4 separate regions of the Homo sapiens genome follow, and regions 2, 3 and 4 are each linked to region 1. Evidence: promoter capture Hi-C in 16 types of primary human blood cells and fetal thymus (Javierre and others, 2016). All regions are on one chromosome and are shown on one strand. Each heading gives the region's core, a stretch centred on a gene start or on the middle of the fragment in contact. The rest is flanking DNA. Distances are from core to core; before and after follow the strand shown. Region 1 holds the start of GALNT12 (polypeptide N-acetylgalactosaminyltransferase 12). Region 2 overlaps COL15A1 (collagen type XV alpha 1 chain). Region 3 overlaps COL15A1 (collagen type XV alpha 1 chain). Region 4 overlaps COL15A1 (collagen type XV alpha 1 chain).

Evidence for each region. The method cuts DNA at HindIII sites, captures the fragments that hold promoters and counts their contacts. A CHiCAGO score of 5 or more calls a contact.
Region 2: a fragment that was not itself captured here is called in contact with the fragment with the promoter of GALNT12 in region 1 in 1 of 17 cell types (M0 macrophages); the score reaches 6.3 in M0 macrophages.
Region 3: a contact is called between a fragment that was not itself captured here and the fragment with the promoter of GALNT12 in region 1, in 3 of 17 cell types (M2 macrophages, M0 macrophages and M1 macrophages). The highest score is 15.4, in M2 macrophages.
Region 4: a fragment that was not itself captured here is called in contact with the fragment with the promoter of GALNT12 in region 1 in 1 of 17 cell types (M0 macrophages); the score reaches 5.0 in M0 macrophages.

The regions. Positions count from the first base shown.
Region 1 is chr9:98,802,143-98,809,419 of GRCh38, forward strand. It overlaps GALNT12 (polypeptide N-acetylgalactosaminyltransferase 12), which reads left to right and starts at 5,528. Exons shown (of 10, transcript NM_024642.5): 1 at 5,528-5,927. The coding sequence starts at 5,557. LOC124902229 (a long non-coding RNA gene) reads right to left here and starts at 5,438. Exons shown (of 2, transcript XR_007061689.1): 1 at 4,629-5,438. RefSeq lists silencers at 5,410-5,499, 5,600-5,669. The HindIII fragment of the contact is 2,789 bases long and covers 4,497-7,277 here.
Region 2 is chr9:98,973,856-98,980,790 of GRCh38, forward strand. The region is part of intron 2 of COL15A1 (collagen type XV alpha 1 chain); the gene reads left to right. Among named protein-coding and RNA genes, the nearest start is that of COL15A1-AS1, 33 kb to the left of the region's middle. The HindIII fragment of the contact is 712 bases long and covers 3,923-4,634 here.
Region 3 is chr9:98,993,285-98,999,595 of GRCh38, forward strand. COL15A1 (collagen type XV alpha 1 chain) reads left to right here. Exons shown (of 42, transcript NM_001855.5): 6 at 3,650-3,797. Among named protein-coding and RNA genes, the nearest start is that of COL15A1-AS1, 52 kb to the left of the region's middle. RefSeq lists enhancers at 5,009-5,765, 5,766-6,311. The HindIII fragment of the contact is 1,735 bases long and covers 3,527-5,261 here.
Region 4 is chr9:99,037,429-99,044,817 of GRCh38, forward strand. COL15A1 (collagen type XV alpha 1 chain) reads left to right here. Exons shown (of 42, transcript NM_001855.5): 22 at 1,240-1,305; 23 at 3,093-3,128; 24 at 4,617-4,679; 25 at 7,140-7,208; 26 at 7,307-7,342. Among named protein-coding and RNA genes, the nearest start is that of TGFBR1, 64 kb to the right of the region's middle. The HindIII fragment of the contact is 1,578 bases long and covers 2,170-3,747 here.

The DNA of each region.
Region 1 (7,277 bases), core at 4,278-6,777:
GGGCACAGAACAGGGTGAAGAGAAACAGCAGGGACAAATGGACGATGTCTAGCACCTTGCTGCTCAATCTGGGGTTCTTGGACCAGCAGCACTGGTATCACCAGGGAGCTTGTTAGAAATGTGGCATCTTGGGCCCACACCAGACCTGCTTAACCAGATCTAGCATTTCAACAGGATCCCCAGGTGACTCACCATACCATACATTAAAGTTTGTGAAGCACAGATCCAGCACATCTTTCTATGCAAGTATAGCTATAGCCTTATTGTTTATGAATTCTCTTCCAGCCTTTTTTTTTTTCCATTGGTCCCTGTGTTGGTTTGGATCCTCTAAGAATCAGATGCCTAGATGTTTGTTTGTTTGTTTGTTTTCTGGGAAAAATACCTACAAAGGACAAAGAGGGAAAGTGTGTAATCCCAGCATTTTGGGAGGCCGAGATGGGTGGACCACTTGAGGTCAGGAGTTTGAGACCAGCCTGGCCAACATGGTGAAACCCCATCTATACTACAATACCAAAAAAATTAGCCAGGTGTGGTGGTGCGTGCCTTTAATCCCAGCTACTTGGTAGGCTGAGGCATGAGAATCGCTGGAACCTGGGAGGCGGAGGTTGCAGTGAGCAGAGATCACACCTCTGCACTCCAGCCTGGGCGACAGAGTGAGACTCCGTCTCAAAAAAAAAAAAAAAAAAAAGAGGGAAAGGGGAAAGTCGGGGAAAAGGGATGGGGAGCCCTCAGACCATGATGCAGGTCTGATACTTGAGAAAGGAGAATGGGAAGTGACGAGGGAAAGTCTCAGCCAGGCAGATGGGGGATTCCCAAGCACGGGTTGTGTCCTATATCATGCAGATGTGGCCAGGTTCTGGTACCACACCATGCTCGGTCACTGACTGGGAGTAGCCAGAGGATACCACAAAGGATCCAAAGGCATAGCCACTGGGAGCTGGCAGTCAACCGTGTTTCCCCTAAAAGTTTCTCCCAAAGGGTAATCTGAGCAATGCACCTCATTTCCAACACAATTCCTTTCAACCAACTTTTTTAAATTAAAATTTTTTCTTAATTTTGAATTTTTTAGGCATGGTATCTTGCTTTATTGCCCAGGCTGGAGTGTAGAGGCTATTCACAGACACCATCGTGGTGCACTGCAGCTTCAAATTCCTGGGCTCCAGTGATCTTTCTGCCTCAGCCTCCTGAGTAGCTGGGACTATAGGTGTGTGCCACGGTACCAGGCTCAGCCAGCATTTACTAAATACCTTCTGTGTGCTAGGCATTATGTGTGTTGAATGATAGAAACATGGCCTCATGGCTCCCAGGAAATCCCACATGACTGCAGAACAGTGGGGTCTATGAGTTTTCATCGTCAATTCAAAGGAAGATGTCACAGTTTGGAGGATGCCACTGACAGCTTCATGGCAGAGCTTGGCTACAAGTTGGGCAGAAATGATGGGTGGGGTCTAGGTCGTTGTAGGAAAAAGGAGGAAACATATTGGAAGGAGAGAGCAGGGGGACAGGAGGACCACAGACTGACAGAGTGGATTAGGCAGGAGATAAGGAAGGCTTAGAAGTAAAATAATCTCGAAAGAGTACAATATTTACTTTAAATGTCTTTTTTTTCCTAATAAGGTAACGATTGTTTTAAAGAATTCTGATGTTGTAGAAATATAGAATGTAAACTCCTTGAGATCAATGGCTTTGGATATTGTTTACCTCAAATCCCCAGAATCTAGCACACTGACTCCCAGATGGTAGGTGATCAATAAATATTTGTTGAAAAAAAAACAAATAAATGGAACAAAAGTGAAAGGACCACAGAATCTCACCCATCAGAAGTAAATATAATATAGTTAATGGTTTGGTAAATATTCCTTTAGATTTTTTCCCCTTTCATATGTTAATATATATTATTTTACAAAAATAGGATCATACTATTCATATAGCTCCACGACTTGCTTCTCTTTTCTTTACAATGCATCTTGAACACATGTGTATGTTAAATGCCTACAACTAACTCATGCTTGCAAATAGCACTGTGGTATATTATGGTATTGTACGGATGTGCAATATTTTATTTTATAATCTCTTGATGGAAATTTGGATTGTTTCCAACTTTTTGCTTTTATATACAATACTGCCATAAGCTTCCTTGTATGCATATCTTTTGAGCACTTACGAGTCTATGTTTGTTGGATAGATTCCTAGATGTGGAATTGCAAAATCAAAAAGATGTTAATATTAACATTTCTAATAAATGTTGCCTAATTGCTTTCCAAAAGGTTATACTAGTTTGCATTCCTACCAACAGTGGATGAGAGTGTTTTTTCACATCCTTGCCAACACTGGAATTAATAGCCATTTTCATTTTTGCCAGTCTGATAGGTGAAAAAATATTTCAGGGTAGGTTTATTTTGTATGTATTTTAGAGAGATCGAGCATATTTTCATACTTTTATAAACTATTTATATCCTTTTGGGTGGGAACTGTCTATTTAAATCCTTTGACCATTTTTATTTCTGTTTGTTCTCTTTATTTCCCTATTGATTCACATACTGGGTAAATGTCATCTGCAAATATCTCTTTCTGACTTGCCTTTTGTTTCTGGACTTTGTATTATACTGGAAGCCTTACAGAATTCAAAATTTTTATATAGTCACATTTAGAAATATTTTCCATATGGTCTCTGGTTTTTCTCATTCAATACTTTTATAATTAAATTCCTTCCCTTCCCTTCCTTCCTTCCTTCCTTTTTTTGCTTATTTACTGTGGCATCTTCAGATCATTTGGAATTTATTTTGATGTAAAGTGTGATGTTGGGACTTGATTTGAATTTTTTCCAAATGGTTATCAAGTTGTCCCAATTATTACTTGAATTAGGCACATGTTCCCCACTAATATTTGAAATACCACATCTACCATAGATCATATTAAACTCTAAAAGGAATGTAATAACTCCTATGAAGAGAGCTAATATGACAAATTAAAAGCATCTTCTAGAGATATCTACTTGTTGGTGAGCAGCCGATGACATAACATGGTACTGTTAGTGAACAGATAAGCCCCCTAAAAATAGCAATAAACCCAAGGGCTTTACCTCTGTTGAAAAGATGCTAGATTTCCAACAAGCTCCCAGGTGGTACCAATGCTTCTGGTCTAAATATCATACTTCACTCAGCAAGGTGCTGGACATCTTCCCTTTGCCTTACTGACACTCTCTCCACTCTGTTTTGTGCCCCGGGAGGCTGACTGTGCAGACTGTATCACTCAATCTTCTCAACAACCCTGTTCAGGTGGTGCTATCATTAGATCACCATTTAATAGATGAGCAAATTGAGCCGAGATAAGTAAAGCAACTTGCCTGAGGTCACACTGCAATTCGTGATGGGGCTGGGTTGAGCTCAGGCAAGTGGGCTCCAAGGTTGTGTTCCGACCTCCTAAGCTAAGCTGCCTTTGCATCTCATTGCAGCCTGCCCAACAGTGAGTGGTGTGGTGGGAAATCCTGGACTGTGAGTCAGGAGACCCAGATACAAATCCTCCCTCTACCGCTTGCATGTTGTGTAACCTTGGGCAAGTTGCTTCACTTCTTGAGCCTACATATTCTCATCTGTCAACCTTGCAAGGTTGTCATAGGGTGAAATGAGAAAGTACATGAAAAAGAAAGTCCAGCAGTTTACAGCACACAGTGTGTGCTCAGTAAACAATAGCTTTTATCTGTTACCTGGGGCTTAAGTCCATGTCTTGTAAGGCCTAATTGCATTTCTCTTTTCTCTGTATCTGAACCTCTATTGAGAAGCATTCCAATTTGGCAAGCGGATCCAAGACATTATGAATTGTAATCCTTGTCTGTTTTCTAATCTGACCGCAGATCTTAAATGTGTTGGGTGTCTGAACAGAGGCCAAAGGGCTCAGGTCCAGACCTACCTAACACAACCGCCTTCTGGCATTAACCAGCAGCCTCCATTCTGCGTGGGAAGCAGGCGGGGCCCTGAGCACTGTGGGAAGAGCCACTTCCCTCTAGTCTAATATTAGCAGCAGGTTGTCCTGAGTGGGAGCTGCTTTGCATGGTTCATCCCAAAACCCACCCCCCTCCTGCAACCTGAGGGAGATTTCCTCTGGGGATACCAGTAGCCAAAGGCTGTATGAAGACAACAGCAAGTCAGATTCTACCTCTACCTGAGCCGCCAAGTTCAAGGTCCTCTCCCCACCCTGTGTCTCAGACCCCGCATTTATCAATGAGATAATTGGACCAGATTTGTGCTTTTTAAACTTTCTGGGCTTCTGGTCTCCTTGAGAATATTTGATAAAAAGCTTTGGACCAACTTCCCATGGTAAAACAAACAACAACAAATAGAGCTTACACTCTATCCTTCTACAGGGGATACAGAATGATTCTTTTCCCTGAGCTAGACACCAGCAGAGGGAGTTCCAGATTAATTTAAGATATGATTTGAAATCTCTGCTATCACTTTTACATTCAGATATCTGTGTAGACATTACTTCATCAGAGAAGCTTTCCAAAACCCCCAAACTAGATCAAGTTCTACTATTCTAAGCCCTTTTAGCGCCCTGTAATTCTTCTTCAAAATACTTAACACAATTCTAATTATCTTTTTAATATTTGTCTACTCCATTAGACTTACTTCGTCCCTGGCAGCTCAAGGCTCCCACAGCAGTGATCTCATGAACAGGGCGGCAGCTTCATGGCCTTTTTTGGTTGTTGTTTAATAGAAACAGGATCTCGCTTTGTCATCCAGGCTGCAGCGCAGTGGCGCATAGTTCACGGTAACCTCCAATTCCTGGGCTCACACAATCCTCCTGCTTCAGCATCCTGAGTAGCTGGCACTATAGGCACGTGCCACCATGCATGGCTAATTCTGAAATTTTTCTGTAGAGATGGGAGTCTTGCTATGTTGACCAGTCTCGTTTTAAGCTCCTGGCTTCAAGTGATCCTCCTATCTCGGCCTGGGATTACAGGTGTGAACTATCATGTACAGCCTTCATGGCCTTTTGCTCCTAGCCTCAGAGGTCACAGAGCTATCACGAGGCGAGCCAGGCGAGGGTTTGCTATTCAAGGACTCCAAAGAGTATGGCAGAGGCTGGGCCTGCAGAAGTCAGTGGGGCAGCGTGGTGTCTGTTGATCTCATCGCACCTCCATCTCCTCATCTGTAAAAGGGAGCTCGTAATCCTAGTTGATGGTTGTTTTATTGGACTGTGTAAAGATCAGATGAGATAATGGCAGTAGAATTCATAACACCCTGCAGGGTGTATTCAGCCAACACTTAGCGCCTACAATATGCCAGGCGCTAAGGGTTTTACCACCACTATCTCTTTAATAATGCACCATAGCCCAAGAAGGAAGATGCAAGTCTCAGCCAGCCCACTTGAAGACCCTGCCGAAATGAGCCACCCCGGGGGCTGCGCTTGGGCTGGCGCGGGGCTGGACGGAAAGGGGGCGGCGCGCAGGTGGGGCGGGCCGGGGGCGGGGCGGCACGGCGGTTCCGGGATCCGGGTCCTGGCCTCCACCGCCGCCTTGGGGCGCGCAGATCGCTGGCTGCAGTTGGCGGGCGCATGTGGGGGCGCACGGCGCGGCGGCGCTGCCCGCGGGAACTGCGGCGCGGCCGGGAGGCGCTGTTGGTGCTCCTGGCGCTACTGGCGTTGGCCGGGCTGGGCTCGGTGCTGCGGGCGCAGCGTGGGGCCGGGGCCGGGGCTGCCGAGCCGGGACCCCCGCGCACCCCGCGCCCCGGGCGGCGCGAGCCGGTCATGCCGCGGCCGCCGGTGCCGGCGAACGCGCTGGGCGCGCGGGGCGAGGCGGTGCGGCTGCAGCTGCAGGGCGAGGAGCTGCGGCTGCAGGAGGAGAGCGTGCGGCTGCACCAGATTAACATCTACCTCAGCGACCGCATCTCACTGCACCGCCGCCTGCCCGAGCGCTGGAACCCGCTGTGAGTGCACAGCTCTGGGGAGGAAGCCCGCCCTCAGAGCCCCGGGCCTCAGTTTCTCCATCAGAGCAGTGGCAGGGCGGGGAGCTGGGGTCTCCAGGATGGCGCGTCTTATTGAGTCTTTCTCCGAAGACGATAGTGTAAGAGCTCACATGGGGGCGGGGAGGCAAGAAAGTAAAAAAGACGAAAGTAGAAAAAAAATTACCAGAAATTGGCAAGTCTGTTAGTGATCTCTTAGCTCCCTTCTCCTTGAGAAGTTATCATCTCCCTGAAAAGGTGAGGGTCAGGGCTAAGCAGAAGGGTTTAAGGCGAGGACCCCCCAGCACCCAAAGGACAACCCCGCTCTGCCCGCCTCGCAGTGCCTCCGCGAAACTGACAACTCCTCCGGGCGGTGACCGGCTCCATTCATTCTCTGTGTGTGCCAGGGCCTAAGGGACAAACAAGATGCGAGGGAGCGCCCCACAGGTGAAGCGAAAGATGGCTGTAAGGCCCCCTCAGCGCTAGAAAGCCTCCTTGTGCTCTCCCTGGGCATTGGATTTCTGAGCTTTGGGTGGAGGAAGGCGGGAAGGGGCACGGGGTGGGAAGGGCTCCTTCTGGCCGTGATCCACCCCAGCTCACTCCTGTGGGTGGTGCTGGACTGGAGCCAGCGTGGTCAGAGGCCTAGTTCCTGTTGGAGCTACTGGCTGGGCAGGTTGCGCCCCTGCCTAGGTGGGGATCCAGGGCACACGCTGGCAGCAGGAGGAAGGACAGGTGGCTGCTGCCACCTTTGCCGCTGGGCCTCCCGGGCTCTCACTTTTTCTTCGAAGTGTCAGGGATCTTCCAAGTCCTTTTTTGAGCCCCTTCCTTACAGACTTTGAGGAAAAGAGGACTCAGAGAGGGGGTTCCCATTGGAGCTGGTGGTGGCAGCCTGCCGTGTGCACCAGGCACCTGCCACTCCTCTCCCCTTCAAGCCATTCCTGCTTTACAGGTGTGGAAATAGGTTCGGAAAGGATAGGTGACCCACCCAAGGCCCCTCAGCTGGAATGTGGTAGGACTGGTCTGGAGGGACTATGGCCCTTCTGGCCCACTTGGCACCATGCTGATCTCAGGATTTTAGGGGCCTGCTCCATGGTACCTTGGCCAGAGAGACCATGAATGATGGAATGAGGATGCCCCACCTCTGCCCCACTGTTTCCACTGTCTTCCCTGTTTTGGGGATCTCCTCATGCCTAGCCTCATGCTTCTGCCTGAGGCATTTTTCACTGTTAGTCTTTTTGAATAAAACTTTGTTGGGATTGATAGTAGTTCCTCCACTCACCAGCCTAACGCATGTTTAGCTCCTCGAAACCCCGAGGGTGCCCGCTGAGGCAAGGT
Region 2 (6,935 bases), core at 3,029-5,528, 170 kb after region 1:
AAGGAGGAGGCAGACGATGAGGCTGTCAGACCTGGCAAGGGCCTTTGGAAAATATTTAGTCCAAGGCTCTAGTTTGACAGATATTGAACCTGAGGCTCAGAGAAGGGAAGGGACTGCTCAAAGTCATATGCCAAGTTGGTGGCAGAGTCCACCTTGCAGGCTGAGGCCCTTTCCACCACCCCATGCAACATCTGAGAGGTCAGGATGTAGAAGTTGAGGCCGACTTGTGTGTGGTCTCAGAGGGGTAGAGAGCTAGGCCCAGCCAGGTGGGTGGGAGTTGCAGGGGCGGTTGCCTCAGTTCAACATGAGAAAGGACTTCCGAAGACTTCGAATTGTGCAGCAATGGTCAGGTGGCCGTGAGTGGAGATGAGCAGGTGGAAGCCAGGTGGCTTTGGATGGGTGAGCATTGTAGGAAGCTCCTCCCCAGGTGGTGAGCTGCACTGTCCCACACAGTCTGCGGTTGCTGAACTCCTGTCCCTCCAGGGAGGTGGGAGAAAGGGAAGTCACATGCCAGATGTGATTTAGACATACCCAGGGTCCTTGGGGGCCACCTCTCTGTAGGGGTGTCCAAAGGGAAGGGAAAGAACCGTCCCAGAAGATGCAAGAACCCCACCCTCCCAACTTGCTGGCAGGACAAGCTGACAAAGGGCAAGGAGGAGGGACACGTGGCTTCTCCGACGGTCTGCCCCCCATGCTGCAGGCGCAGAGGAGGGGGACTGAGCACCTCCTCTTCTCCCCAGGGACTGAGTGCCAAGAAACTCAGGTGAGAGGAGCCCTTCTGGGGTCCCAAGGGCAGTCCCCCCACCTTACCCTACATACCCTCATCCTACTGGTCCAGCCCCAGGCCACAGGCAGTATAGGGTCATCTGGACCCCCTCAGCCCCGGCCCCCCAGTGGGAATACACCCACCCGCTTGCAGGAGTCACCGTGGCCCCGTTTAAGCTGACTGAAGTGTGCCGTCGGTCTTTAGAGGCGTGTGTGGGAATGGTAGAAACCCAGGAGGGGCACCTTCAGCCTTTCCCAGCACTCGGTGCAGAGAAACAGCAGAGGAGGGAAAGGAGGCGTTATGGGTTCTAGGCCTGGCTTGGCCAAACTCACTGCATGGCCTCAGACCTGCTCTCTTGGGTCCCTTAACAGACCTTTCGCTTTGAGTCTGTTGTTGGGATCCCGGTTCACAGCGCAGGTGGAAAGCCTTCCTTGCAGTTGGTGGAAGCGCAGTTCCCGTAGAGACCGCCAGGAGCCGCTGCCGCGCACGGTCCCGGGGCGTCCTCAGCCTCCCTCGCGCCTCCGTCCGGACATATCCGCAGCGCTCCTTCACCTGGAGCGAGGAACGCTCCTTAGCCTCCTCTGGCTTTAAATGCTAACTAGCGCTAGCGCTGGGCTCAGGTCCCAGATGATCGTCTGTGAGAGGGAGCTTTGCAAAGCCAGCTACAGTTCTCTAGGGAGGCAAGGCTCCAAAGCTCAGGCTAGTCCCGGGCACTGCTTCAGGACCCCACAGATGGAAGGACTGATCCAGCCCATCGCACGGAAGGGGAAACCGAGGCCCAGCGGGGTAGGGGAGGTGCCAGATGATGTCCCTGAGCCTGTGGCAGAGAGGAGGAGGAGAGGTGAGAGTTCGCTCCTGTTCTTCATCTCTGGCCAAATCGCTGTCATCTGTGTGGAAGGAAAACCTGAACCCTGCTCTGTTTGTTTCTTCATGGCTGGGATTCTGCCTGGTTTCCATGGAAACTGGCTTTGGACCCTTGGGAGGAAAGTCGCACCCTGCCCTGACTGCTCAGATTTTCCTCTGCCTCCTCTGTCTCTGAAACCGTCTGATTTCTCCTCTCTGCGCCCTGAGGAGGGGCCACCCCAAAACTGCACTTAGGAGTCTGAACTAGATTTGAGGGAGGGAGGCTCAGGTTGTCTCTCCCTGTGTCCGTTCCTTCACAGCATCCCCTTGGCTCTGTGGATGTTTAGAGGAGGGGGGATGACTTTGGCCCTTTTTGCAGAGTGAGAGTGGGGCCCCCGTGTGTTGGGGTGCAGCTGAGCCTGACTGGAAAGATTTAGATGTAAGAAGATGGGGAAGAGTGATGTCACTAGAAGGAATAGCATGAGTGAAGGCAAAGACACGGGGGGAGAATGAGGAGATGAAGCAGAGGGTGTCTCGAGTAGAATTTTGCTTTTATGCTGAAGGCACTGGGGAGCCATTGAAGGCTTTGGAGCTTGTAATAGGAGCAGATGACTACTAATGGTCACCTAGATAGTGAGCTGCTTGAGCACACATGTTCCAGGCTTAGCTCCATGTCTCCAGCACTACACAAGGCACAATGTGGGAGCTTTAGAAATATGATCAAATTCATGAATTGGAAAAGTAAGTTGAAAACCCCCATTGGAAATGAAGCTATCTCTAAGCATTAATGAAGTGAGAGAATAAGACCGGTCAGATGCAGCCCCAGGAAGTGTTTGAAGGCAGTGAAAATACATAGAATAAATCACAGTGGATGTGGCTCTGAGAGTCTATCTGGTCTAACTCTCTGATGGGAAAACTGAGATCAGGGAGGGGGACTAGCTGGCCCAAGGTCACAGACAGAGTCTTGAACCTGAGTCCTTCCTCCCCTCCCTGGGTCTCTCATTGCCCCATGGATTCATGCCTCCCAGATGGGCTCTCTGGGCCAGTGGATCCAGCATCGTGGAGATGGGAGGGAACGTGGACTTTCAGGTGATGGATGGGCATGCAGTGAGGTCACTGTTGGATGTCAGACTGGAGCCCGACCTCAGTGACTCTCACCAGGGCCTCAGACTGTGAGCCTGGCACCTTCAATTCAGGAATGCCTAGGATTTAGTTCAGCCAGCAAACACTTCCTGAGGACCTGCTCAGGGACAGAGCCTGGGTGTGGGGGAGACAGGGAGAAGTGGACGCCAGTTCCTACACTTAAGGAGGTTCCAAGATGGTAGGGTCCAACACCTTAGTCATATAATGCCATATATGCTACATAGAGTCAGGGCCAAGTGCAGGAGCGGGAATGCCCAGACTACCTGGTGGGGGAATCCAAGAAGACTTCATGGAGGAGGTGATGACATTGAAGTTGGGCCCTGAGATGTGTGGAGCAGTTCCTCAAGTGGAGGGAACAGCATACACAAAGGCTCAAGGGTGTAAAATGTAGGACCCATTCAGGATACCTTGAGTTTTCCAGTATGACAATTGCATGGGAAATAGCAGGGTAATAATAATAGGGAAAGAAATGGCAGCTACCATTTATTAAGCACTCTGTGTGCTAAGCAGTGTGCTAAACATTTTAGGTATATTATTTTATTTAAGTCACACAACTGTCCTCTGAGAGAAGTATTATTATCTGGGGATAAGTGTGGGCCGCTTCCAAGAATCCTCAGGCTGCAGAGTTCCATCAGCATGCTCCACGCCAGTCCCCAGTCCCCTCCAAAATGGTGGGATGTCTTCCCACCAGCTGTGATCTCCACCCTCCTCCCTTCTTGCCCAGCACAGAGCCATCCAAGGTCAAGCCCATGGACCCAGTTGCTGGGCCTGTTTGTCTTGGCTCCCTGGCTTCTCCTCCCCTCCCTGGTGGCTGCCTAAACAGGTGGCCCTCCTGCTGGAGGCCAAAGGGAAATGAGCCAGCAGGCCCAGGCGCAGCCGCGAGTGAGCATGGGTCACTCCAGGTCAGGGGTCGTCCCCTACCACGCCATGCCATGGGACAGTGGATGTGGAAGGATGTGGTGGGGGTTGCTGAGAGCAGAGCTGGGCTGCTGGGGCTGACTTGGGCTTGCTCTACATTCATGGCTGGCCTCCCTCTTGGCGGACTCTGTGGAAACAAGGCCTGCGGGCCAGCGCCTATCCATGTGTCCTGTCTTGAATGGCTGAGGTCTAGGGGGATGGAGGGTGGGAGGGTTAGGAAGGGATCTTTTTTGCAGACTTTGGTTTTTGTTAAGCTTATACCTTGCATTTCCCATCTGTCGTCTCATTGAATCCCCACATGGGAAGTGGGCAGGGACCTCCCCTGATCACCAGGAAGTCATCGCCCAAAGGCTTTGTGTTTGGTAAAGGGCAAAGGAGGGGTCTCATCCCAGCTGTGTCCAAGGAAGAGGATGTTCTCCACTGCAGGCTGCCTCCTTTGCCCCCTCTCCAGCTGACCAACCATTGGCCAGGACCTGGAGTGGTCGGGGCTGTGGGAGGGCACCAGCTCTGGGACTCGTGGTACCAAGACTCTGTCCACCCTTGCTTGGCTGCCCCATCTGTTGCTTCCTGGCTGTGCCTCCTGGCCATGGAAGTCTCCCTGAACATCAATTTCCCTGTCTAGAAAACAAGGATGTTGGATAGATTCATGAATTTTTGTTTTTAAGCAGACTCCTAGGCATAAGAATTCCCAGAATTGCCACATGCAAGCCTGGATCTACTGGCCATGGGAAGCACTAGGCTGGTTTAAGCAATGAGCTTTCTGAGTGGGAGCCTCTCAGGCCCTTCTCCCTGTGTCGCCTGAACGCTTAACCTGGCCCTGGATCCCTCAGAGACACCACTTGGAAACAAGCCACAGGATGTGAAGCTCTGGTGCTTTTACTCTCTGTGGCACCAGGAATTTTCCGAGCAGAAAGAGGCTTCCCCCTCCTGTTCCCAGCAGGAAAGAGAGAGGAAATAGAGGAAAAGCTTTTTACTGGATTGGATAAGCGAAGAAGAAAGCAGAGCTCTCAGTAGGGTGTTTGTGGTTTTGTTTTGTTTTTGTCTTTAAACCGTGGAGGAAAGAAAAGAAATCTCAGTGGGATGTGTGGTTTTCTTTGTTTCTTTTCCTTCTTTTTTTCTTTCTTTCTGTACAAAGATAAGCTGTATCTGAGTGAGGAAAAGCAAGAAGAATAGGTTTTATGATTTCTATAAGTGGATGCAAGGAGATAATCTCTTTAAAAATATGTAGATGTCTTTACTTTTCATACCATGTATATGCTGTAAAATAGAAAAAAGTATAAAAAGATATCCAGTGAAAAGCAAGTCTCCCAGCCCCCAGCCACCAGCTTCCTTCCCTGGAGACAACCACTGCCCCGTTTCTTGTGTATTCTTCTAGAGCTATTGTAATATACCATATATATTTAAATATATATGGTATATTTAATTTGTATTAGTACATACATTTCCAACTGATAGCAATTCACTTCTGCACCTTATTTTGTCTGTTTTTATATAGTACATCTTGATTGTTTCATATTAGTACTTAAGGAATCACATCTTTTGAAACGCTGCCTTGGATTTCGTTGTGTGAACCTGTCATCATTTATTATATTAATCATTCCCAAAGATGGGAATTTTAGGTAAATTTAAACCACGATGCTGTGAATATTTGTGTATGTACTTTATATTTCACATATGTAACTTTATCTGTTAAAAAATTCATAGACGTATGACTGCTGGGTCAACAAGTACATGCACATTTGCCATTTTGATAAATGTTATTAAATTGCCTCCCACCACGTTATAACAATTTATGCTCCTGCCAGTAACGCAGGAGAAGGCCTGCTGCCTTAAACCCTTGCCAACACAGCGTATTCTGGTCTTTGCCAATCTGATAGGGAAAATGGTATCCCTTCGTAATCTTAACTCATTCTATCATTATGAATGAGGTTGAGTATTTTTCATATGTTTAAGATTTTAATTTCTTTTACTGTGTCTAGAATTTTCTATTCTTTGCCCATTTTTCTTTTGGGTATTCATTTACTTTGCATATTAGAGAAATGAGTTTGTTGCTGTGATTTTTGTAGCAAATATCAGTCATTTCATGGTTTTGGGGTTTTCTTTGACATTGCAGGGATTATCTTTATTATTATTATTATTATTTATTAGTTCTATGCAGAACATTTTTTTCTAAGTGGTCAAATTTAACCAAATTTACCAATCTTTTAACTAAAATTAATTTCTGTTTTAAAGCAAGTTGTAAACTGGAGAGGATAAGCATTCAATTGAGAATCAAATCTGAGTTCATGGCCAGCAAACACTTCCTCTCTATTAACCTTAGTTTAGTGTTTTCTAAAATGAGGTGATTGGAGGCTGAGCGCAGGGGCTCACACCTGTAATCCCAGCATTTTGGGAGGCCGAGGCAGGAGAATCACTGATTCCAGGAGCTCGAGACCAACGTAGGCAATATAGCGAGACCCTGTCTCTACAAAAAAATGAAAAAATTAGCTGAGTGTGATGCTGCATGCCTGTAGCCCCAGACATTTGGGAGGCTGAGAGGTGGAAGGGTCATTTAAGCCTGGGAGGTGGAGGCTGCAGTGAGCTGTGATCATGCCACTGCATTCCCACCTGGGCAACAGAGCAAGACTCTTGTCTCAAAAAAAAAAAAAGAGGGGACTTGAGAATATGTACACATTCATTCATTTGTTCATTCATTCACTATAAGCCCTGGGTTGGTTACTGGGAAGACAGATGGCCCAGTGGGAAGAGAGGCAAGTGACCCAATAGTGACATGCAGGGGCTATGATGGAGGACCCCGTGTGTACAGAGAGGACTTCTAATGCAGCCCCCAGAGGGGAGGGTGTGGGTGCGGGAGGTGAAGCGAGATTTCAGGGGAAGCGAGGCCTGGGCTGATGAGCAGGAGTCATTCAGTGAAAATAACTGGGCTGGGCTGGGGCAGATGGCACAGAGGAAAGCATTCCTGGCAGGGGTGGGAGTCCCTGGGACAGCATGGGGCACGCTGGGGCTGTGTCAGGCATGTCAGGGAGTAGGGAGTGCAGCTGGGTCCTGACCACAGAGGGCCTCTTGAGCCAGGTGGCAGCAGCCTGGTCAGCCCTGGCCCTGAGGGCCATGAAAAATCCTATTTCATAGAAGGCTTCTAAGCAGGATAGCAACAGGATCAGATGTGCTCTTTTGTCGAGGAGGGGTTAATCGTTTTCATAAAAATTGTATGAAATATTTTCCATGAAATTTGCTATAAAGAAAAATACAATGAATATTTCTTTTG
Region 3 (6,311 bases), core at 3,144-5,643, 190 kb after region 1:
TGTGTCAGAGAGCAGCTCAGTGCTGGACTCAGCACCGGGCATAGTACAGATGCCTCGTTCCTCTTGGGGCCTCCTGGTTGGCCAGTGGCTTGGGCTGACAGGCATGCCAAACCCCTGTGGCTGCCTTCAGTTATTAAGGGGATTGCCCTGGGCTGTGCCTCGAGGCCTGATGGTCCTGACCTTAACCTGTCTGTTCCTGATCATCAGAATGCCTTCCCTGTGCACCCGTCTGTCTGCACCACAGTTCACGCTCTTCCACATGCTTCCATTTCCTTTAGTCTCATTTGCAGGGAGGTGTTTGGGGTCTCTTCTACATAGGAGGGCACTGAGGCCATGGAGATGGTTGCTGGAGGCACCCAGCCTGGAGGTGGCAGAGCCAGGTCTCCAGCTCAGGGTCCAGAGTGCACTCAGTCATGCCACCCCTGAGCTGGGGACTTCCCCCTTTTAACATCTCCTGGAAGGGCTTTATGGCATTTTCCGGCAGCCACCCTCTAGGACGGGGAATTTCCCTCTTCAGCTCAGACAGTCCCCGCCCGCCCCTTGTCTGTCTAACTTCTTTCTTGGAATGAATCTCACTTCCCCATCCTCAGCCTTTCCAGCCTGCCACCCTTTGAGACATGAGCCGTCGCCAGTGAACTGAATTGCAGACTTTCTGAGTGGTCAGGGACTACAAAGTCTGCCCCTCCTTGCCTTCTTCCCCATTTAGGATTGGGGTCCTTGCTATCCAATTCTTTGCATTTTCAGAAAGTTCTATGCTGTTGGAATTAACATCCCTGTGGTTCTCAGCCCTGGCTGTGCATCAGGGTCATTTGTGTGTAAGTGTGTGTTGGGGGTGGGGGTGGCATGGGGGGTTGGGGAGGCACTGTGTTGGGGGGATTGGTCTTTAAAAGCAGATTCTTGCCTGGGCTGTAGACCTGGATGTTCAGCTTCAGTAGATCTGGAGTGAAAGATCCTAGAATCTGTATTGACAAAAAGCTCTGCAGGTGATTCTGGTCCTCAGCCAGGGCCTCTTTCCCAACCACACCCAGATGCTCACAGTTCTCTGGACAGACCGAGCACTTTCTCCCCTCCATGGCGCCTTAGTTCCTGCGGTTCTGTTTGCCTGGAGGGCCCCTCCCAGCTCCCATTTCTGCCTGGCAAGTTCCTACTTAGCCTTCAGGATCCAGTCCACATCCTCTCCTTGGAGGCCATTATTTAGCTAAGCCCCCTCCTCGCACTTGGCTCTCACTCACGCCATCCCATGCATCACTCCGAATCATGGTTTGTTGCGTCTGGTCTAGGTCTGGGGATCCTCCATCACCTGACAGCTTGAGGACAGACACGCTGTCTTAGTTATTCATTTCTGTGTCCCCAGGGCTCAGCCAAGGACCTAGCACACGGTAGGGCCTCTGGAAATATGTGCAGAATGAGTAAATCTGATTGTGTGGACGTGAGCCTGGACTCAGCAAATTGCAACACTTTTAATAGCAAGTCTTCAGACTTGAGGTTCCTATTTTGTCACAGGCCACACTGGATCCCCATTCACATTGACCTCTGAAAACCAAAGCCACCTATTTGAGGCAGGTCCCCTTACCCTCACTCCTGAGGGTCAATTCACCAGAACCATGCCCTGTCCTTGCAGGGGGGTTGGGATGCCTTGTTGGGAGTTTGACAACTTCAGCCACCCTGAGTTACAGAGCTCAGCCCCCATCTCGTTGTCTTCCTATGTTTCCTGAACCCTCACCTGCCCTGCCCGCCTCATCCCAAAGTCCAAATGCCTTATAGAGCACCTTTGCTACCAGCCACCAGCAGCCTCACTCCAGACTAGAGATGAGCATTCAGGGGCTTGAGCATTGGTTCCTGAACAAGTGATGGAGTGGCTTCTGCCTTGATCCCTCACAGGGAGAGGAGAGGAACCTCCTGGGCAGGGGTCTTTATCTTCCCTGCTAGATGAACATCCATCTGGGTGAAATGGAGACATCCCACCTGGTCTTGTTCACAACCTCCCCTGGGGAGGTGCCTGCTGTCTGCTCCCACTGCTGCCCTGGTTCCTGTCTTGTGGACTTCTTTACTGCCACCCCCCAGTCACCTGGCGTAAGCCTCAGCTCCCCTAGTCCATGATCACACTGCCACCAGCGAGGACTCTCTAAAACACACAGCTGCCCCCACCACTCCCTCTCCCGATGCTCCCCAGTGGCTGCCTGTGGCCCTTGGGTTCAAGCCCATTCTTCTCCCCACAGAACCAGCTCCTCCCTCTGCCTGCCTCCCTGGGCTCTGTTCCACTGCTTCCCTCCTCAAGCCCTGGGCTCTTGCCAAGCTCAAGTTGCCAGGCCCTGACTTTCATCAACCCTCCACCCCTGTGTTCTGAAACCCTGCTCATTCTCCAAGGCCCAACTCCTTAAAGCCTTTCCTCCCACCTCCACCCTGAAGATTTTACAGTACAATAGAATCCATGGTGATTGTCTCTGGGTGTTAGGACTCAAGGTGATTTCTCTTTTTGCTCATCTGTACTTACAGTGTTTTCAATAACAAATATGGAATATTTATGTACTAAATATAAAGGTGTGCTTAGCCCTTCCATGCATTTTCTATTTCCTGCCTTCAAGTAGTTCTTTATTGTCCTCATTTTTACAGAGGAGGAAGCTGAGGTTCAGTGAAGCTCCATGACTTGCCCAACATAACTAAGCTTATAAGTGGAGAGCTGGGATTTGATCCAGGTCTGACTGTAAGAAATGAACTATTAAATTCTAAATGATGGGGCTTCCAAGAATCCTCCTTGTTCCATGGACCAGAAATTTTTTGATTTACTAGATTCTGAATTAAGGAAATAACCTTCTGTTATTAGTCAGGAAAGGTAAGTGATGCTGCAGTAACAAATTAACCTCAAAAATCTTAGTGCCTTACAAAACAAAGATTGGTTTCTTGTTCATACCACGAGTTCAACACTGATTCACAGGATTCTTCCATGCACCCCCAGCCCCTTTAGCTTAGAAAGTGATGAGGCTATCTGAATGCTGACAAGCGCTGGGTCCCGCGAGCTGCTGCTTGGGTCCAGGGGTGATGCTGTGACTTTTGGAGCCCATGCTAGGATTTCTGCGTAGATCACTGAAGCACTCTGTGTTTCTGTTGGGGTTTTGTTTGTTTGCTTTTCTCTAGTTGGTAATGTTGGTTAAGACACTGACTGGCTTTGGAAAAGCTATATAGATGCTGAAGTTTCCTCGGAAGGAACCACACCCGTCTTTCATTTTCATAGGTGTTTTCATATCTGGCATTGAATTTATATGCAGTTTATTGAGTGCAGCCTGGTTCATTCATTTGTTCACTAATTCATTCAATCATTCCCTCCTCTAACAGATCTTTACTGGGCACCTCCTCTGGCTGACCTGGGATTTGGGAATCACAGAAATGTGGTCCCTGTGCTCAGAGAGCTTTGGCTGAGATGAATAGTCTCACTGTCAAGTGAACAGAATCTAATGACCTCTAGTAGGCACCTCTTTCAGGCCCTGGGAGGTGCAGCCATTGCCCAGGTAGACACCAAGTGGGGCCAAGCTTTCCCCTTGGTTTATTCAGCATCTTGTGGATATATTATTTTCTTCAGTGATATTCTCTGTCATTTCTTCTGCTTTACTGCCAAGTAAATCATTTTGCATCTCATTTTTCCTCCCTTCAGCCCAAAGAAGCAAAAGTTGAACCCATAAACACACCTCCAACTCCATCCTCCCCCTTTGAAGACATGGAACTTTCTGGTGAACCTGTACCCGAGGGGACCCTGGAAACCACCAACATGAGCATCATCCAGCACAGCAGCCCCAAACAAGGCAAGTCCGGATGCACATGCCTACGTAGTGGCCTTTTATTGGGTGATTACTATGTGTCCAGCCGGGGCCATGTATGTAACATACAGAATCTCATTTAACCTTCCCCTCAACCCTTTAAGAAAGGGTGAGAACCACCCTCATTTTACAGACAAGAGGAGGAAATTGAGCCACAGAGAAGTTAAGTAACCCAGCCAGGAGCAAACAGCTTGTGAATGGCAGAGCTGGCATTTGAGCTCAGATAGCAGATCTTCTAACCCCCAGATCTGGAGCTTCTAACTCCCAGATTCTATTCCTTCTGGGGTTTAACAGAAAAGTTTGTAATAATCCTTGCTCTTTGTTGAATACCTACAGTGTGCCAAGTGTTTGGATATTTTGTCTCCAACACCGACAGCATACCGCCTACTCAGTAGCACTAGCCACTATTTTATAGGTGGAAAAACCAACACTTGGAAGAGCTAAGTCCAGAGTCCCCACCCATTCTGACTTTTGCCACAAACTCCCCAACTCTCAGAGGATCAGCTAAACTCCTGTGTGGCACAAGTGAGAAACTGATGGCCAGAGAGGGGCCAGTTACCCAGCAAGGCAGCAGCAGTCCCTAGGAGAAGAGCTGGTCCCCTGGCTGCCCATCCAGGGCTCTGGCCCCTGCCTCTTGTCCCCCTACCTGTGCAGAGGAGCACTGGTAAAAGCCCAGGCGTCAAACACTATCCCCCAGGCACTAGCTTGGCATATGCCCAAGCCCTGAGATCGCTTGTGGTTTCTGTCATTTCTCAGAGGGGCCGTCACTTCAGACTGAAGATGTAAGTACAAGATCATTCCTGGCAGCACTGTTCTTAGGAACAAAAATAACCCAAACTGCCCACAGTAGGGATTGGTCGGCCAAATTCTATTTCATTCATACATACAGCCCTGACACTGGTGATACAGAAGATTTAATGACCCAGGGACATGCTCGTGGTATATTCCACCAAAAAAGCAAATTCCAAAATTATGTCTATGACCCTAATTTTGAATATATGTTATTTATATCTATTTACATATAGCTATGTAGAGCGATGTGTGTGTATTAGATACATCACATATTAGACGTAATATTCATCAAAATGTTATAAGCAGTTATCTCTGAGTGGTAGGATTATGGATGGTTTTTACTTTTTTTATTGTACTTCCGTATTTTATTAATACAAGTCTTCTACAATAATACATATCACTATTCTTTTTGCTTCTGCCATCAGTTAATGAGTGTTATTTTAACAACTAAATTTGGGGAGTCTGTGGGTCAGAGAAAGTATAGAGAACTGGAGAGAAAAAATTGTAGGATAATTTAATAACGTCATGACAGAGCCAAGGAGGCAGGGTGTTGCTGTGGAAATACTGCCCGCTGGGGAGAGTCAGACAGCTTGGAAGGAGGCCCTGCCTAGCCCCCTATTTGCTGTCGGCCTGGGGCAAGTTGCTGATCAGTTTCCAAGCTTCAGATTCCTTAGCCGTCCTCTGGGAGCATGAACAATCCCCGATGCTGGGTGGATGAGAGGGCTGAATCTGGCCGCAGTTGTGGAAGTGGCTTCTGAATTGCGAATGCTTTTCTCAGGGGTGGAATTAGGATCTCTCAGCAAGGGGTTAAGGTGAAGGGGCTGGGGCGAGGGCTTTCCTAGACTGAGAAGATGAGGTCCACGTGGGGACTGGGCTCTGATCCCAACGCAGCTCGCCTGTTCCCGGGATCAGCCACACTCCTTATCTAGCAGACAAAAGGTCAGTTGAAAGCAATGGAGCTAGCCAAAGTGTCCTTTTCTTCTTGATGTGTAGACAGCCCGGATGGTGGGAGAAAGCCCTGGCTAAGCAAAGCCCCTAATATTTGCATTCAGAGCTTCCCTGACACCATCGTGACCCGTGGAAGGGGCCACCCCACCTCCTTCTTCCCAGGGGTCAGTCCTTGGAGGACAGGCAATCGGCTGCTTGCACGGCACCCCCTGGTGGTCAGAGCAGGGAAGACGAGAGTGCTCGACCCGTGCTGGCCACTCTTCCATCACAGGATGGGACAGGAGTGGGTGGGGAGGGGGGCAGAGTCCTTTGGAGGATTTGGCACCTCTTCCAGAGTTATTGTGACCATGGGACCTGCGTGAGCACAGCGTGTGTGGGAAGGGCCTGGCCCGGGGACAGGCTGACCTGGCTTCAGGGCCCTTCCCAGTCTCAGTCTCATTCCCAGGGTTAATAATACTGAGGTATTGATGTGTGGATCCGGCAGGTCACACCTGTCATGGGGTGATAGTGGGATCCCCAACCAGGATCTGCCCACCTGCAGGAAGGTGGTGGGAGGGGTCCCGGTGGGCAGGACAGGTGGGCCAGCAGGAGGGTTGCTGGAGGGAGTGCATGGGACAATCTTGGCATGGGCCCAGCCATAACAGGCGTGCAGTCATGGTAGTACAACTTCTTTTTCTTCTTCTTCTTCTTCTTTTTTTTTTTTTTTAGACAGGGTCTTGCTCTGTCACCCAGGCTGGAGCACAGTGGCACAATCATGGC
Region 4 (7,389 bases), core at 1,709-4,208, 230 kb after region 1:
ATAAGTAAGGCCAGGCACAGTGGCTCACACCTGTAATCTCAGCACTTTGAGAGGCCGAGGCAGGAGGACTGCTTGAGCCCAAGAGCTTAAGACCAGCCTGGGCAACATAGCAAGACCCTGTCTCTGATATTAAAAAAGTTTCTATTTTAAAAAATTAAAAATAAAGATAAGTAAGACAGAGTTCCTGTCTTCAAGGAGCCTCCAGTGAGGTCAGGAGAAGGGCTGTAACAGAGCTGTAACTGACAGGCAAATGAACATAAAGAGGGGAACAAGGGAGAAAAGACTGTTTGGGTTATGAGGAATCAAGGAAGACTTCCTAGAGGAAGTATCTTTGAGCAGGGATTGGAAAGCTGAGAAGGATTTTACCAGGTAGGCACGGAGGACAGAACTTCCAAAGCTCTAGTGTCAGGGATGCCCTGAGCCAAAGCAGAGGGTAGGACAATGTGGTGTGCTCCAGGTCGAGGGAGCTGACTGGCAGAGGATAGTGCACATGGGTGTGTGTAGAGAATGATGGAAATTGGAGAGAAGGCTGGAATGTGGGCTGGGACCAGATCGCATGCATTTAATATTAAGACATCACATCATGAAAAATCCTGGCCCTTTAGAGAGAAATAACATCATGCTGGTAGACCACAGAAAGACAAGCCCCAAATAACTGGAAAAAGGATGACTAAAGTTAGAAGAAAAAAAAAACACGATTTTTAAAAATCAAATATGTGTAAGGGTGTGGGGAAAAAGGTAATCTCATGTGCTTCTGGTGGAAGTGTAAATTGGCCCCTTTGGATGGCTCTTTGGCAGTCTTTTAAAGCTAAAAATATTCATATTCCAAAATTCCACATGGAAAGATCTCCACACAATATGGCCGAGTGAAAAAAGCAAGTTGAGGAGTAATACAGCCTGATGCCATTTATGTAAAATAACCACATGGACAAACACACACACCCCAACACTGTGCTTTCTGTGGGTGCATATAATATGTATATGTTTAAACTCTAAAAAGAGAAGACATTCGTATATTGTGTGATTTAAAAATTAAGTAAAGGAGGAAAGTGCGAAGGCAGCTCAGAGCTGTTTTATAAGAAGGGGGAGGGAGAGCTGTGTTTGGCAGTGGGCTGAGGGCGTTCTCAGTGTCTGCGGTGTTCCGCTATGCTGGGTGACTTTAATTAAAGCTTTGCTGCCAGGAACAAGGCAGAACACATGCCATCCTTTGTCCTCATTGTCTGATTTTTCTCTTTTCAGTCCTTGATCAATATCACCCATGGATTCATGAATTTCTCGGACATTCCTGAGCTGGTGGGGCCTCCGGTTGGTATCTACAGCTGCCCCAGAATGTGGCTTTTACCCAGACGCCCCTGTTGAAACAAAGTCGGGTTACTTTGGAATCCTTTTAGCTCCTGAAGCGTAGAGCTAGAATATATCAAAGTAGAATGGAAAGAAAGCTTTGCATTTTTTGAAAAGTTGCTTTCACATTAATTTGATCATGTGGAAAGTTGTCTCCAAAGCAGTGGAAGCTTCCAGTCCTGTGCACCGGCAATATGTGTCATGGAAATTAGAGAATGCTAAGTAACAAACAGATGACATCTGTTGCACACTTTTGGCCTGCTTTTATTTACATTATCTTATTTCATAGTATAGGAAGAGCCTGGAGACACCTTTCCTTGTGCTCAAGGGAAACGAGGAAGAAATGGACTCATTCTAGTCTTTATAGCCCCATTTTAGAACTCTGGAAATTATCTGTGTGTTAATTTCCAGATCTCTAAAATGGGATTATAATGTATATAAGAAATACACATTATTTTTGGCCAGAAGTGGTGGCTCACGCCTGTAATCCCAACACTTTGGGAGGCTGAGGCAGGCAGATCATGAGATCAGGAGTTTGAGACCAGCCTGGCCAACATGTTGAAACCCTGTCTCTACTAAAAATACAAAAATTAGCTGGGCATGGTGGCATGTGCCTGTAATCCTAGCTACTTGGGAGGCTGAGGCACGAGAATCACTTGAACCTGGGAGGCGGAGGTTGCAGTGAGCCAAGATCGCACTACTGCACCCCAGGCTGGGTGACAAAGTGAGACTCTATCTCAAAACAAACAAACAAAAAAAACCAAAATATACATTATTTCTGCAAGTTGGCAGAGTTGACTCATGGCACAATGGCCCTAAGATGAAGGAAGCTTCCTCCTACAGCCTGTAGAATAAATACTCATTGCATCTCCCAGCATCTGCTGGTCAGCACAGGAGAAAGGAAGGAGCTCTGGCCTTAGGAGCCTTGAGGTTGCAGCCCCATCTTCTCCACACACCACTCTGAGCCCCTAATTCTCTTCTCTGATGACACCTCACCAGCCTTTGAGGCAACTTGTAAGAAGTGAGGGATGTGAAACTGCTTAGCACACTGTGACGCTCTGTGCAAGTCATTGTGGAGACAGGTTTATGCCTTCACAGCTGTGCAATGCCGATGTCCCTGCCTCTCCTGCAGATCCCCATGAGGTTGCCCTGAATCCCATTCATCCAGATCCAGGGGAAAATCTAGTGCTGCCCCAAGATTCCTGCAAATATCTGCAGACTCTTCTGGCACCAGGTTTCTCCCCTGCTGAGTGACCTCATTGTGAGCCATCTTCCTGTCTCCTCTGTACTGCATCCATTTGATTTCTATGAAAACCAATAATCCAAAATACCTCAATAATGAAACCCTAGAGCAAACCAGCTAACAAGTGAAAGTTTCTTCCCAAGGGGTCTTTGTTTTCCCCAAGCTATTGGAGGTTTCTGATATTAGGTGGGTGGATACTGAAGCAAAACACAGAGAGACTAAAACCAGAGATTGGGCATCCCTGTCCTCACAGTCCCTGGGCCTTGTCTGCCTGCATTACCATGCCTCCACCCCTTCTCTCTCTTCCTTGCTTTCTTTCCAGTCACTGTCCTCCCCTTGGCAAATCCAGACCCTCACAGGGCCCCTTCTTCCCTAATGCTGTGTCAATCCGTCTTCCCAGCTGTGGGAACATGCTGAGGCCTTTGGAAGGGGCTGGGAGGGAGGGGGTCCTGCTGACTCTGGAAATGCCGCTCCTAATCCAGCGTGCTCTATCTTTGGTGTGTCACAGGGGCCGGACGGGTTGCCTGGGCTGCCAGGATTTCCAGTAAGTACCACCCTCGCTGTCTTCTATCTGTGCCCCGTGGCTGCGATCATTCTGTTCCTTCCACCTAGAATGGCATTTCCTCCATCTATGCATGACTGAGCTCCAGGGGCATCTTGTTCATTAACTTTTTCTTGATATTTTTGATAGATATGGGGTTTTGCCATGTTGCCCAGGCTGGTCTGGAACTCCTGAGCTCAAGAAATCCATCTGCGTCAGCCTCCCAAAGTGCTGGGATTACAAGCATGAGCCCCTGAGCCTGGCTGATTTTCTGAACTTTTTACATTTTCTAAAGGCACATATCATATGATAACACTAAAAATAGTGCTAACTAGACGTTAAAAAACAAAAGAGAGAATGGCAACCATGACCACGATTGTGACCATGACTCTGACCATGATTCTTGGTTAGCAGAAGAAAAGGCCAAACCCCTAAGCTCCAGCCCCGGCTTGGCTGCTCCAAGACCTGGGGCACATTTCAGAGCACACTTTCCTCTAAATGAGTGGTCCTGTGTTCCTGAGGGAGTCCCAGGCTCTGCAGGAGAGCCTCCAGGACCTCCACTGCAGGGAGTAAGGAGGGGGCCAAATAGGCACATTCCAGGCCACTGACCTTCAATAAGGGAAGCTTCACTGGACATATTTGTATATATTAGGCTTTCATTTAAGACTTTATTTGGGGGAAAAAAAAGGAAGGAAAAGAGTTTCACTGCTAAACAATAATAACAAATAGTTGAAAGCCACTGCTGTAATGGGTAATTCACTCTTTCATCCAGACAAGACAGGAACTTGTGAAAAGTTAAAATAGCAATAAAGTGTTGAAATGCCTTTTTGAGGCAGATGTGGCTGTGTGAGTCATTGTCACAGGCATTCAGTGTCTGTTGGAGTTGAGAAGAGGTTGCCTCTGGCTGCATGTGTGGATTTGGCTCTGCAGAGGGGTGGGTGGGCATTCCTATGGGGGGGGTGGCATGAGTGCTGGTGCAGAAGCAATGGAGGAGTGCAGAGAGGCTGCGGGAAGGGAGTCAACCTGATGGTGTGGGAGATGAGATGTTGATGCCTGGCTGGGATGGGCTGGGGTGCCAGGCTAAGGTACCTGGGTCCCATCTCATAGGTAGTGGGGAGCCAGAGAAGGGGTGGGAGTCGTGGAAGGGGATAGTGGAGGAGGCGGGCTGCAGGGTGGCCTGGAGGAGCCGTGGGGCAAGCAGATGCAGCAGGCCCAGATAATAGGCTGGATCAGTAGTGCCCAGTTGGAGGAAACCAATGTTCAAAAAAGTGTGAAGCCTCAAGGCCTCTTAACACTCAGTGCTATCTTCTTTCTGCCAGACCACAGTTTCTGGACCACTTAAGGTTAAGAAAATGTCATAGGTAATCATGACTTCCACCTACCTGGGGGATGGCAGTGTGTATTCTACTGTTGAGAAAAAATATATTTCTGATTGGTTTATGCATTTTAATCTTAACGAACAACCAAATACTATATAACAATTCCTTCCAGGGTCCTAGAGGACCAAAAGGTGACACTGGTTTACCTGGCTTTCCAGGACTAAAAGGAGAACAGGTAAGAGGGGCCCAGGTATCTGAGTGAGATTGGGCGCTGGAATTTGCTAAACGTTTCAGATTGGCTGAAAATAGCTATTAACTTTTCTCTTCTTTGAGATACAATTCACATGCCATAAAATTCACCCCTTTAAATTGTACAATTCAGTGATTTTTGGTGGGCTCATAAGGTTGTACAACCTCATGAACCACTCTGTAATTCTAGAACATTTTCATCATACCAGAAAGAAACCCCATACTTATTAGCGGTCACTCTCCAGCTGTTAACTTTTTTAATCTCCAGGTTCTCTATGAGACGAGAAGGTACGAAGTGGGTAGTGAAATTGATTTTTACCATAATTTGGAAAGAGAACTCAACTCAACACTCCTTTGTTCTCACACACACTGTGCTTTGTCTAACCACCTGCTGGGCATCCCCCTTAGAACATGCACTGCCTGAGGACAGGCATCCTGCCAGCTTCTTTTCCATAGCTCCAATACTAATATGGGGCCTGGTATACAAATGGTACTGAATACACTTGTTGGACGAAAGCATGTATAATTAATGAGTAGAACAAATGTTAATATTTATAAATTATAAATTGAGCATTCTGCAGTTGAACAACAGTCTTGGTCCAAAGTCTCTGGAATAAATACTTAGCACACAGAACACTTCCTGAGAACTCCCAGGGTACCAAACCTATTGTTGTGCTTGTATTCTTTTGTGTTTGCCTCTTAGAATTAACTTTCCAGTTGGTTTTTATAGATAAGGGGGAGAGTGACGTCCATAAACAGATTAATATATTCACTCGTCCATGTATATACTCATCCATCTTTCGTCCACTGACCCGTGTGGTGTGCCAGGCAGTTTCCTGTGCTAGGCGTAGGGATATAGAAATAAGATGAGGAAGAGATATGCAAAGAGCTAACAGAGCACATGCTTACAGCTGGAATGGAGCTCTGTGCAAAGCCAGTGGGAGCACTGTGCAACCCCCTGAGCCTGCCATGGGGAGTCAAGGAGGGTGGGTGTGCTCTGTGGGATGGGGGAACTCCTCTCGTTCTTCTCTCCCCCCATCATTCTATAATATAATGGTCTCCAAGGAGGAGAGGGCCTCCAATATCTAGTGGGCCACTGCTCCAGGGCATGGAGGGCTCGGTATGCTGGGTGAAGGTTTGGCATCACGTGGGGATGTGTCTTGGGATGCTTTTCCTGCCACAGGCCTGTGGAGATGGACCAGGGCTGGCCAGCTCAGGCTTGGGAGGAGGCCCAGGGAAGCAAGAGCACCTCTTGCTTTAAACACTCTGTTTAAACACTCTGTTTCCTATGTGGTAAGGTCAGATGGATCTAGAGGGACGGACATGACATCCCCGCCCTAACCTCCTGCCACCTTGAATGACTGGTCCAGGCAGCCGGGCAGTTCTGCTCTGGCCATTGCAGTGAACGTGCTTTCTCTCACTCTGCCTCTAATGCTTTTGTGCTTGCTTCTTCTCCCTGCTGGCGTGCTCAGGACTACCTTTCCTCATCAGTGGAGTGGTAAGATCTAAATACCAGGTGTGGGCTTAGGGGGATGGAAGAAAGAGGCTGCTCTGCTTGCTTTGATGCTACTGTCCTAGCTACTCCCAGCCCCATTGAAAAGAGACTTCTGTGTGGCTCAGCCCTGCTCCCCAGGGGCCAGCATTGAAGTTTAGGGCCAAAGCCTCAGAGTCAGATAGAAGGTTTCTGCACCCAGTCTTGTTCTCTTGACAATCATCTTCTCAGCAGCCTCTAGCATAGTAGATGTCTCTGCTGAGGACAGGATTGGGGTCAGGATCCTGTGTTCTTGCCACCAGTCTACCCATCACTCATTCCTAATGTCTGGGATAGCTTTGCCTAACTAAGTAAGTGTTTGCACAGGAGCTTAGAGTTTGGAGGCAACGTTGCATATGGAGACATAAGGCCTCCATGTTGACAGAGGCCTCTAGTTTTTATACCGTCATCTCTTTCCTAATTTCAGGTGTTTTAACAAGAATAAGTATTCTTGGTGGGAACAGATCTCAGGTTGAGTTGCTAGGAAAGCAAGCTGTCAAATACATTGGGAGCCAGAGCTTCCTTGAGGGCACCATGTGGCAGGAGATAGACAGGACCACACTGGGGCTGGATCCTGGAGGGTTGAGAGTGAGGATGCAAATCTGTTATCAGTGGGAGCCTGAAGGGGCATGGAAGACAGGACTGTCCTGTGCCTTAGGACGGTAACTCTGATGGTGCATAGAGGGAATGGCTGAGAGAACATTCATTCATTTAGGAGGCTGTTGCAATACTCTAGTACGAGGTAATTTTGGAGCAGTGGGGTTTCAAGTAGGATGAAGGCAAGAGAAATAAATCATGGCTGCAGGACTCAGAGGTCTCTGTACAAGGTGGCAAGGAGGAGTCTCTGTACAAAACTCTCTGGACAAGGTGGCAAGGAGGAGTCCTGACTTCATTGAGATGTTCTCTGAATTGCAGGGCGAGAAGGGAGAGCCGGGTGCCATCCTGACAGAGGACATTCCTCTGGAAAGGCTGATGGGGAAAAAGGTAATTATGTCACCAGACCCTGCAGGCACATATCTGCCCCAGCTTTGCATCTTTGTTTCTGTCCCAAACAGTGACAAGTATATATCTTCCTGTTTTAGGGTGAACCTGGAATGCATGGAGCCCCAGGACCAATGGTAAGTCAGAGCGTCTCTCAGCTGGATCTGGGCTGGGGTTTGAAGCA